Linked DNA regions of Homo sapiens: region 2 is linked to region 1. Evidence: promoter capture Hi-C in 16 types of primary human blood cells and fetal thymus (Javierre and others, 2016). All regions are on one chromosome and are shown on one strand. Each heading gives the region's core, a stretch centred on a gene start or on the middle of the fragment in contact. The rest is flanking DNA. Distances are from core to core; before and after follow the strand shown.

What was found. Contacts are between HindIII fragments. The CHiCAGO score rates a contact against its expected background, and 5 or more counts as called.
Region 2: a contact is called between a fragment that was not itself captured here and the fragment with the promoter of ACTRT3 in region 1, in 2 of 17 cell types (naive CD4 T cells and activated CD4 T cells). The highest score is 6.0, in naive CD4 T cells.

What each region holds. Positions count from the first base shown.
Region 1 is chr3:169,765,411-169,770,999 of GRCh38, forward strand. ACTRT3 (actin related protein T3) reads right to left here and starts at 4,151. Exons shown (of 2, transcript NM_032487.5): 1 at 3,911-4,151; 2 at 1,511-2,940. The coding sequence starts at 4,110. The coding sequence ends at 2,022. RefSeq lists promoters at 1-448, 1-86, enhancers at 2,874-3,018, 3,880-4,139, 4,231-4,375, cis regulatory regions at 2,946, 4,303 and a silencer at 4,220-4,289. The HindIII fragment of the contact is 4,942 bases long and covers 1,707-5,589 here.
Region 2 is chr3:169,985,101-169,990,326 of GRCh38, forward strand. It overlaps SEC62 (SEC62 preprotein translocation factor), which reads left to right. Exons shown (of 8, transcript NM_003262.4): 6 at 705-765; 7 at 3,140-3,259. Among named protein-coding and RNA genes, the nearest start is that of SEC62, 21 kb to the left of the region's middle. The HindIII fragment of the contact is 1,341 bases long and covers 1,996-3,336 here.

The DNA of each region.
Region 1 (5,589 bases), core at 2,901-5,400:
TTTTGATCATCACATTTTTTGGAGAACTTTGTGAAAATAGATTCCCAGGCAGCACTGACTACAGCAGAATCTTGTCTCGGCTCAGTGGGATGCGTCCGAGTTCCTACCCTGCCCCCTTCTCCTTAGAATGCCTTCTCCAGCCTCTCCTTGAGCAGAGGATGGCTTTAATCAAGTGTAACTACTACATTATTAATCTTAAGGACTGAATCTCCCTTTTATTAGGAAAGAAAGGCGTTTCAATCATTGACTTTGCTTTAAAGTAGTGCTGTGTCTTGATGAGGTAAAAAGAGGGGAGTAATCCACCATAAATTGTAACGATTTTTTTTTTTGAGACGGAGTCTTGCTCTTTCGCCCAGGCTGGATGGAGTCTAGTGGCGTGATCTCGGCTCACTGCAACCTCTGCCTCCCGGGTTCAAGCGATTCTCGTGTCTCAGCCTCCTGAGTAGCTGGGATTACAGGCGCCTGCCACCACGCCCAGCTAGTTTTTGTGTTTTTAGTAGAGACGGGGGTTTCACCATGTTGCCCAGGCTGGTCTCGAACGCCAGGGCTCAAGTGATCCACCCGCTTCGGCCTCCCAAAGTGCTGGGATTACAGGTATGAGCCACCGCACCCGGCCGCGAATTTTTATAATGGCCAGTATAGTGCAGTTTTACATATAAATGACAGGATGATCTTAAAAGTTTTACTCGTATTCAGTTAGATAAACTCCGTGGAGTTGTCGCTGTCGGTCCTCGATCTGAAAGAAAAGTAAAATATCTCCCTCTCCATCTCTCTCCCTCCTTCTCTCTCTCCCATCCCCTTTTTCTTTCATAGCATCTGCCAGGTTGTAAAGTTTTTTACGGACAGAATCTGACTCCTGTTTTTAGCACTATTGCACTTAGCACAGTACCTTACATAGAGTAGATGCTAAATGCTTTGAGTTATATGTCAACACTACCACCATTCTCTTAGCATCCCACATTATCTCAAACCCTTCTTTCCCCTTCATATCTAAGTAGGCACTAAATCTTGTCAGTTTTCATAATTTCTTTTTTTAAATTCCTATTGCTTATAATCTTGAGTACAAGACTTGGCACTTTATATGTGGACTAGTAACTTTCTAACTGATCACCAAATCTCCAGGGCCTTCCTCATTCAATTTATTCTCCAAACTATCACATTCATCATAACATAGTTTCCTTATGGCTCCTGCTTTTAAATCTTTAATTTCTCTCCTTTGCATATTGGATATTTAGCACTTTAAGCCTTTCAGTCCCTGGCCTTCACTTAACCTTGCTAGTCATAGCGCTTGTTCTGCTCTATATGAGCTCTTGACTTGAACAAAATCAGTCTAAACTTAGGCGTGGTGGTGCATACCTGTGGATTCAGTTACTTGGGAGGCTGAGGGCAGAGCCCAGGAGTTGGAGGCTGCAGTGAGCTATGATTGCACTACTGCACTCCAGCCTGGGACACAGGGCAAGACTCTGCCTCTAAAACTAAATAAATGAATAAATACATACATAAACAAAAATTTTAAAAACAAAATCAGTCTATTAAACATGCCCTGAATATGCTTTGTTCATTCTCATCTTTAGCAACTTGTTCATTTTAGTATGCTTGCCTGGATATCTGCGCTCCATCCCAATGCCACCCCTTCCATGATGGCATACCTCTGCTATGGAGTCTCGTTCCTCACCACAGCAACCTTCTTTCCCTAAACTTCAATAAGCTTAAATCTTATCACTCATTTGGCACATAGCATATTGTACCACAAATGCTCTCTTCCAAGGGAAATATAAGCTCACCAACGTCAAGTTATAGAAGAAACACTATGGGAAACATTATTTTAACTTGGTTCTACTCAATAGACATCTGTTCTTGAGCTTCACCATTATTATCCCCCAAACCCATTATAGAAATACAACAGAAATATTGGCATCCCAATAGGTGAAGTATTTTCTCTTCTCCCAGAAACATATAATATCCAAAGTTTTCTGTCACATATACTCAAAACATTTTCTTCCAACCATTTTATCTGTATTTCAGAAGCATCTTTGGTGTACTATGTTGGGTCCAACTTCTTTAAATTCTGCAGCAGTGATCCACATGTCCTGGAAGGCAGACAAGGATGCAAGAATAGAACCTCCCATCCACACTGATATTTTCCTTTCTGGAGGAGCTATAACTTGCACAGCGGTGTTGGCAGGAGCCACCTTTGCTATATCCTTAACTAACCGCTTGTCTAAACCAGGGAAAGAGGTTGATCCCCCGGCAAGGATAATATTGGAAAAGAAGGAATTCCTCAGGCCTGTATCACATTTCATTATGCTGCTGAAGCATATCTTATCAATGCCAGGGGCCTCAAGGTTCATATGACACGGAGAGAAGAGGGCCTCTGGACAAGAAAAGAGCTGGTCATGGAGCTGGATGACCTTCCCATCAGGTAGTTGGTAAACTTTCTCTAGACAATCGGGTTTCTTGGCCATTTCCTCTTCGTAGTTCATTGCCACATAACAAAAGCTCTCCTTGATGTCTTCAACAATCTTTCTGTCTGAAGCACTGAGCAACATGATACCATGGTTCTTCATTAGCACCATGAGGTAGTTGGTGAGGTCAAGGCCTGCCAGATCCAGTTGCTGCACACCATGAGGCAGACAGTAACCCTCAAAGATGGGCACACTCTGGGTAACCCCAGCACCTGAATTCAGCACAAGGCCAGTAGTGAAGCCAGCAGCAAAGAGAGCCAGCACAGCCTGGATGGACATATAGAAGGCAGGAACACCCAGATGCTCAAAAAACATTTCCGTGATCTGTTGCCGGTTGGCCAGTGGGTTCAGCGCTGGCTCAGTAATCAAGACTGGGCCATCACACGGCTTCAGCTTTAGGTTATAGTCATAGATATGCTTCCACATGATCTCCATGTCCTCCCATGAAGTAATGAGACCACGCTCCACTGGGTAACTGTAAGGAAAGCAATAAGATCAATGACAGCTTTTTATTTTTCTAGTTTCTATTGTCTTCGACCCTCAGTTAATTCCCCGCGTTTATTACCAATATCCCTTTATGGGCAATAACTGCCACAGCCTCTCACAGCAGGTAAGTGTCAGCCAAAAATAGCACAGCTACTTACCTCTGCAATTTTTTTTTTTTTTTTTGGAGACAGAGTCTCGCTCTGTCACCCAGGCTGGAGTGCAGTGGCGCGATCTCAGCTCACTGCAAGCTCCGCCTCCCGGGTTCACGCCATTCTCCTGCCTCAGTCTCCTGAGTAGCTGGGACTACAGGCGCGCGCCACCACGCCCGGCTAATTTTTTTGTATTTTTAGTAGAGACGGGGTTTCACCGTGTTAGCCACGATGGTCTCGAACTCCTGACCTCGTGATCCGCCCTGCTCGGCCTCCCAAAGTGCTAGGATTACAGGCGTGAGCCACCGCGCCCGGCCTACCTCTGCGATTTTTGTTGCTTTCCATTTTCTCTGTCCTTTGGAACCTTGTGACTTTTAAAAAATTGGGAAATGTCCACATTATAGTATAGTTTAAATGTCAATTGAAGAGAATAACCCAAGTGACAAAAGGGACCATGAGTTAATATTCTTAAATGAATTCGTTCGATAACTTTATACGTTTTAATACATTTGTATAGCCACAGAGAGCAAAATGTTCAGTTTTTAGATGTGTGGTACCCTTGGAGATTTGTGGCCCGTGCGTTTGTAGTAATTCCAGCTGGATGGGGCTTTCCAGCTCCCGGCTTTCTTATTCTTTCTGTCCCCATTGCGCACCTCCTTTGGGGTCCTTTCCTGCCCCCCGACAACACCCCCAGTCCCCCCACCCCCAGCCACCCCAGCCCCACCCCCCAACCTCCCCAGCCCCACCCTACCCCACCCCCACCCCACCCACCCTCCCCAGCCCCAGCAGCCTGCTGGGAGAAGGAGGTACCTGATGAACAGCGAGCTCCTCCAGTCCTGAGCTTGGTCGCCCACGCAGAGTTCTAGCCCGCCCTGGGCCGCGCGGCTCTGGCCCTTGGCGCGGCCGATAATGTTCGGGTAGATAAACTGGGGCTCCCGGCACCCAGCCACGCCCGCCTTGATCATTCCCGAGCCGTTGTCGATCACCACCGGTAGCTGGCAGTGGTTCATGCCGCCGCTGCTGCCGCCGCCTCCTGTCTCTGAGCCGCTCTAGCTACGGGCTCGGCCGGGGCCGAGTGCCTGGAACGCCGCGTCACAGAGGCCCCGGCACGGCCGGGTGAGGCCAGAGTCCTGGGGGCGCAGGCAGGGGGTCGGCAGGGCCCCAGGCGGAAGGACTCGCTGGACGCACCGTGCTCCTCATGTTACCGCCCGCTATTGCTTCTCGCAGGAATTGGGCCACCCCAACACCTGGAATCCCGGAATCCCAGTATCAGGAAAACCCGACTTTCGCATCAAAAGATTCAACTCTAACCCTTCACAAGTGCATTTCTCAAATACCCAGAAGAGCTATAACAGCAGTTTTATTTTCCAAAGCCACGGAATTCTGGTTAACTGGTGGCGGTTCCGGGGAGTTCTAGAATTCGCCCTTGAAACTGGGGAAAAATGAGACTTAAGAGGAGAAAGTTGTTGCAGGAAGGGAGGCAGTGTCTGCTTCTGAAATGTTAAACTTCTAAAATAAGGAGAAAAATGCTGGAATTTAAATGAGTTTTAAGTACGTTTATTATTGTTTCTGTACCTTGGGCAATGCTTTGTTGTGTTTCTTCCTGTGATTTCCAAGCAAAATGTACGCAATTAAAACAAAATAGTAGTTCCTAGCTTAAATATGTAAATAAATATAAATTTATATATATTTATATAAATATATATAAATTTAAATATAAAATATTAAAAAATATATAAATTTATATAATTTATATAAATATATGTTATATTATATAAATATATTTATATATTTATAAAATATATATTTATATATTTAAGCAAGGATATAAATCGAAATATATATATTTATATTTATTATATGTATAAATATAAATATATAAAAATTTATATTTATATTTATTATATGTATAAATATAAATATATAAAAATTTATATTTATATATCATAAATATAAATATATAAAAATTTATATTTATATATCATAAATATAAATATATAAAAATTTATATTTATATATCATAAATATAAATATATAAAAATTTATATTTATATATCATAAATATATAAAAATTTATATTTATATATCATAAATATATAAAAATTTATATTTATATATCATATATAAAAATTTATATTTATATATCATATATAAAAATTTATATTTAGATATCATATATAAAAATTTATATTTAGATATCATATATAAAAATTTATATTTAGATATCATATATAAAAATTTATATTTAGATATCATATATAAAAATTTATATTTAGATATCATATATAAAAATTTATATTTAGATATCATAAATAAAAATTTATATTTAGATATCATAAATAAAAATTTATATTTAGATATCATAAATAAAAATTTATATTTAGATATCATAAATAAAAATTTATATTTAGATATCATAAATAAAAATTTATATTTATATATCATAAATATATAAAAATTTATATTTATATATCATAAATATATAAAAA
Region 2 (5,226 bases), core at 1,416-3,915, 220 kb after region 1:
ATACTAGATCTGTAATAGGGCCTGGCTGGAATCTGTCTTAACTGCGCTTTTATCCCAGACTGGTTCATCATTACATTAGGGACAAAAAGGTTGGCAGTTGCTGGTGTTTTGGTTGAATAAATAATGATGTGCACACATGGAACAATTTTTTTTTCCCCCAAGACAGAGTCTTGCTCTGTCGCCCATGCTGGAGTGCAGTGGTGTGATCTCAGCTAACTGCAACCTCTGCCTCCTGGGTTCAAGCAATTCTCCTGCCTCAGCCTCCCGAGTAGCTGGGATTACAAGCGTCCACCACCACACCTGGCTAATTTTTGTATTTTTAGTAGAGGCAGGGTTTCACCATGTTGGCCAGGCTTGTCTTGAACTCCTGACCTCAAGTGATCTGCCCGCCTTGGCCTCCAAAGTGCTGGGATTATAGGCGTGAGCCACCAAGCCCAGTCAAACAAATTTTTAAGTGTATGTAAGAACATACAAATTTACTTAAGTGCTTTATAGAATTTATAGTTATCCTATAATCATTTTCTAGCGCCAGAAGAACCACTACTACTGAAGGAAAGATCTTTGGAATTTATTTACCTTAGAAATTACTTCTCGTATGTTAAGAGGTTGATGACTGCTTTAAGGGACCTAAAATATAGAATTAAGCATTACTTTCTAATGTGACATTAGAACTTTTAAGCACCGAGGTTTCTTGATTCTTCTAGGTGTATGTATGGATCTATGACCCAGTTCACTTTAAAACATTTGTCATGGGATTAATTCTTGGTAAGTAGTGAGATGTTAATAGCTATAAAGTGCAATCTAAAATTTAGAAAACAATATGCAGATACTGTAAAAGAAAATGTTCCTAAATTTAACATAAAATAGTTGTCATTTTAAAAATACTTTAAATAAAGTCAGAAGATAAATAATACACTAAGGAAAATATTTGAAACATATTAAAGATCTTTTAAGAGATTAACAAACTGATAGAAAAATGGTCAAGGTAGTTAACAGATAAAGAAATACAATGACCAATCATCATGAGTGATACTTAATCACACTCATATACAAATTAAAGCTGTAGTGATTAAGAGTCTTGCAAACCTTAACATTAAAGGTCTTAGAAAAAAATCAGCTCTCTCTAACAGTTGATAGGTATGTCTATTGTTTTAATTTTTGTAAAGGGCAGTTTGTCAGTATCTTTGAAATTTTATGTGTCTGCAGTGACCCAGCAATTCTAGGCTGTTCCCATACAGTTGCACAAAGTGTGTGCATTGACACATTATCTGTTTTTTTCCAAATCCCTTAGACTATACTTGAGTATAATCTAGCAAATATCTTTCAAATTCAAAATGCTTATACCATTTGATCTAATAAATTCCACTTTAAGGAATTTACCCTATGCCATAATCACAGTTGCACAAACGTACATGTGCAAGGATATTATACCTAGAATAGATAAAAAAAGAAAAGAAAGTTACAGACGAGTAAGAATAGTATAAGCTCATTTACTTATTTAGAAAAAAAGTCCCTGTAGCTAGTTAATTATATATAGGCAGTCTCTGAGAATACAGGTAAGCTTAATAGTACTTAACCTCTGGGAAGTGGAATAAGAATTAGATGAAGACTTAATTTTCTCTATACCTTTTGATTTGCTTGTTTGTGACAGGGTCTCATTCCTGTCACCCAGGCTGGAATGCAATGGCACAATCATGGCTCACTGCAGCCCGACTTGCTGGGGTCAGGTGATCTCCCACATCAGCCTACTGAGTAGCTGGAACTATAGGCACACTCCACTACACCCCGCTAATTTTTGTATTTTTTTGTAGAGATGGGGTTTCGCCATGTTGCCCAGGCTGGTCTCAAACTCCTGGGCACTTGCCTCGTTGTCCCAAAGTGCTGGGGGTTTGATTTGTTTTTGATTTGCTTTTTAACGTGTGTATTCCAGGAGGTTTTATGGGGAAAGAATGATTTAACAAACAGAAAAAAAAAAAATAGGTAGCAGTTAAAATAAGCTTGGTCAATATGGTATGATAGGATCCCATTCAAAATAACTCTTTAAGGCTGGGCTCAGTGGCTCACACTTGTAATCCTAACACTTTAGGAGGCCAAGGCAGGGAGATGGCTTGAATCCAAGGGTTCGAAACCAGCCTAGGCAACATGGCGAAACCTCGTTTCTACAAAAAATTAGCCGGGTGTGGTGGTTCACACCTGTAGTCCCAACTACTTAGAAGGCTGAGGTGGGAGGATCACCTAAGCTCAGGAGGTCGAGGCTGTCGTGAGCCAAGATCATGCCACTGTACTGCAGCCTGGGTGACAGAGTAAGACTCTGTTTCAGAAAACAAAAAGCAAAATAACTCTTTTATAATAAGAGTACTAGTCACTTTGCTAGATATTTTGCGTACAATATATCATTTCATCCTCACAACAACCTTTGAAGAATAGGAAGAGACTTATTAAATATAAGGTAACTTAGCCTCAAAAGAGTTAAGTAACTTGCCCAGGGTTACATAGCTTATAAGTGATGGAGCTAGAATTTTAATCCTGGTCTTATTCTAAAGACCTAATAACCAGGCTTCTAATTTCTTATAATTCTTTCTTGTGTCCCCACTTTACTTGCAAAAAAACTGGAGACACTTGTAAACAGTTTCCCTAAGCACCAAAAAATACATCTGTAGCAGAAATCACCTGGGGAATCTTTCAGTCTGTGGATGTCAGAGCTCCACCCCAGAAGAAGAATCTCCAGAGAGGGGTCTTGGAAATCATTTTTTGTTGGCTTTGTTGTTCTGTTGTTTCTTTTAGCTCCCTTACTTAGTAGGCAAATATCTTAGTATTTTTTAAATAAAGTAGATATAGCTTGAAAAAGGGGGCAGTTGATAAATTAAGGAGGCAACAGTTTTGAATTTCTACATAGCATTTTTTTCTAATTATATGTAATTTACACTAATAAAAACTAGTTTAAGAATAGTATAAAATGTTAGGTTGAACAATATGAAATTGCTCATAATTGACCATTTTTTACCTATAAAAATGGCAATTTTATATTTCACTGTGTTTATGTTTCTCAGTTTTTCCCCCAGGGATATGTTTCTGTTAGTGCAGCCATACCATTTAAGTTTTTATTCTAAAATTTAACTTTTGTCATTTCTTGTTCCAGTGATTGCAGTAATAGCGGCCACCCTCTTCCCCCTTTGGCCAGCAGAAATGAGAGTAGGTGTTTATTACCTCAGTGTGGGTGCAGGCTGTTTTGTAGCCAGTATTCTTCTCCTTGCTGTTGGTAAGTATTGTTATTATAAAATTGACCTCAAGAAGGTTGGTATTGAGCAGTTGGACTGTAATTTGGAGCTTCAGTAAAGCTTAAGAAAAATTAATGGAGGTAAATCAAGAAATATATGGTACTACTTTCTGAGTCAAATCTCAAAACTCAGGCTTGGTAAGATGTGTTCTGTCTGCAGAAAAAGGATTTAATACATCTTTAAAAAAATTTTTTAATAAGATTATTTTTTATTGACAGATCATAATTGTATACATTTATGGGGTACAATGTGATGTTTTGGTGTATGTGTACAATGTGGAATGTTTAAATCAAGCTAATTAACATAATTAGCATATTGATCACCTTTCTTGCCTATCATTTATTGTGAGACATTTGAAATTTACTTATTTTGAAATATACCATACATTATTATATCTTAATCTGCAAATAGATGTGCTTTAAAAATTAGTTATGGCAGAGGCGTTTAATATTTTTGCAGTGGTAGATCATTTATTAGACATAATACTTTCAGTAAAACATTTTTTAATTTTGACTTAGAACAAATGCAACATCTAAATAATCTATGCATATATTTAATAAATGATTCTAAACAATTGATTTGCCATTTTGGGAAAAATCAATAATTTTCACCCAAGTACCAAAATACTAGATGCAATAAGGAGTTAATGTTTTAAAAATCAAATAGGAAAACATAAGTAAATGAATTTTCCGCATTTCTGGATGATTGGGGTCTTTCATAGATTATTTGTTTAGAGGCAGGGTCTTGCTCTGTCACCCAAGCTGAAGTGCAGTGGTGAGATCATAGCTCACTGCAGCCTTGAATTCCTGGGCTTAAGCAATCCTCCTGCCTCAGCCTCCCAAGTAGCTAGGAGTACTGGTGCATTTCATCATGCCTGGCTTTTTGTGGGGGAGATAGGGTATCACTCTGCCCAGGCTAGTCTCGAACTCCTGACCTCAGGTGATCTGCCCTCCTTGGCCTCCCAAAGTGTTGGGATTACAGGCGTGAACCACCACGCCCAGCCTCCTTCCTCTGATTTGGTAACCTCTGGCAGCAGAAAAATCCCCTGCTGGTTTTGCATGGAACACGGGCACATTTGTAGGCCAAGAAACAATATCTAAGCCTGTTTGAATTTAGTGTCAGTGTAATACCTGCATCAAGAAGGAAAAGTCATAAACTTTGATCTGACATTAGACATAATAAAATTGGTGCTTTTTGCCTTTCAAATTCCTGAAATTTAGAAACTCCTTGGAAATTTTTAGCAAAGGTTTAGCTCCACTGAATAGAATTATTCTACTTGCTTATTTTTAAATTAAACCAGTGTTCACAATAGTTTATGGTTATTATGTAGTTTTGCTGTTTAAAATATTGTTTCTTCAGTAGTCTCTTTAAATAAATTTTCATTGTAAATATGCTGTGGATTTAAATATGCATTATGAACCAAATAGTCTTCTGAATTATACCAGGAAACAAACCCAACATTTTATTTTGATTCTCTTAGAAAATGCAATTCCAAATATACTTTCAAATAATTAGATATTTCTTTTATATTATTCTTTGAAGTCTTTATATATATTATGTATATCGCATATAATATATATCATGTATATTATATATGAATATATATGATATATAGATATATGATATATCATAATATTATATATCATATATATCATATAATATATATCATATGATATGTCATATATATTATATGATATCTCATATTTATATGAAATATATTTTTATATATATTCATTTTTTGGAGACAGGGTCTTGCTCTGTTGCCCAGGGTAAAGTACCATGGCAGAATCATAGCTCACTGTACCCTCAAACTCCTGGGCTCAAGCAGCCCTCCCACCTTAGCCTCCTGAATAGCTGGGACTATAGGAGCATGTTGCCATGCCTAGCTAATTTTTTTTTTTAAAGTCAGGGTCTTGAAATATTATGTATTGGTCACAATTATATCTGG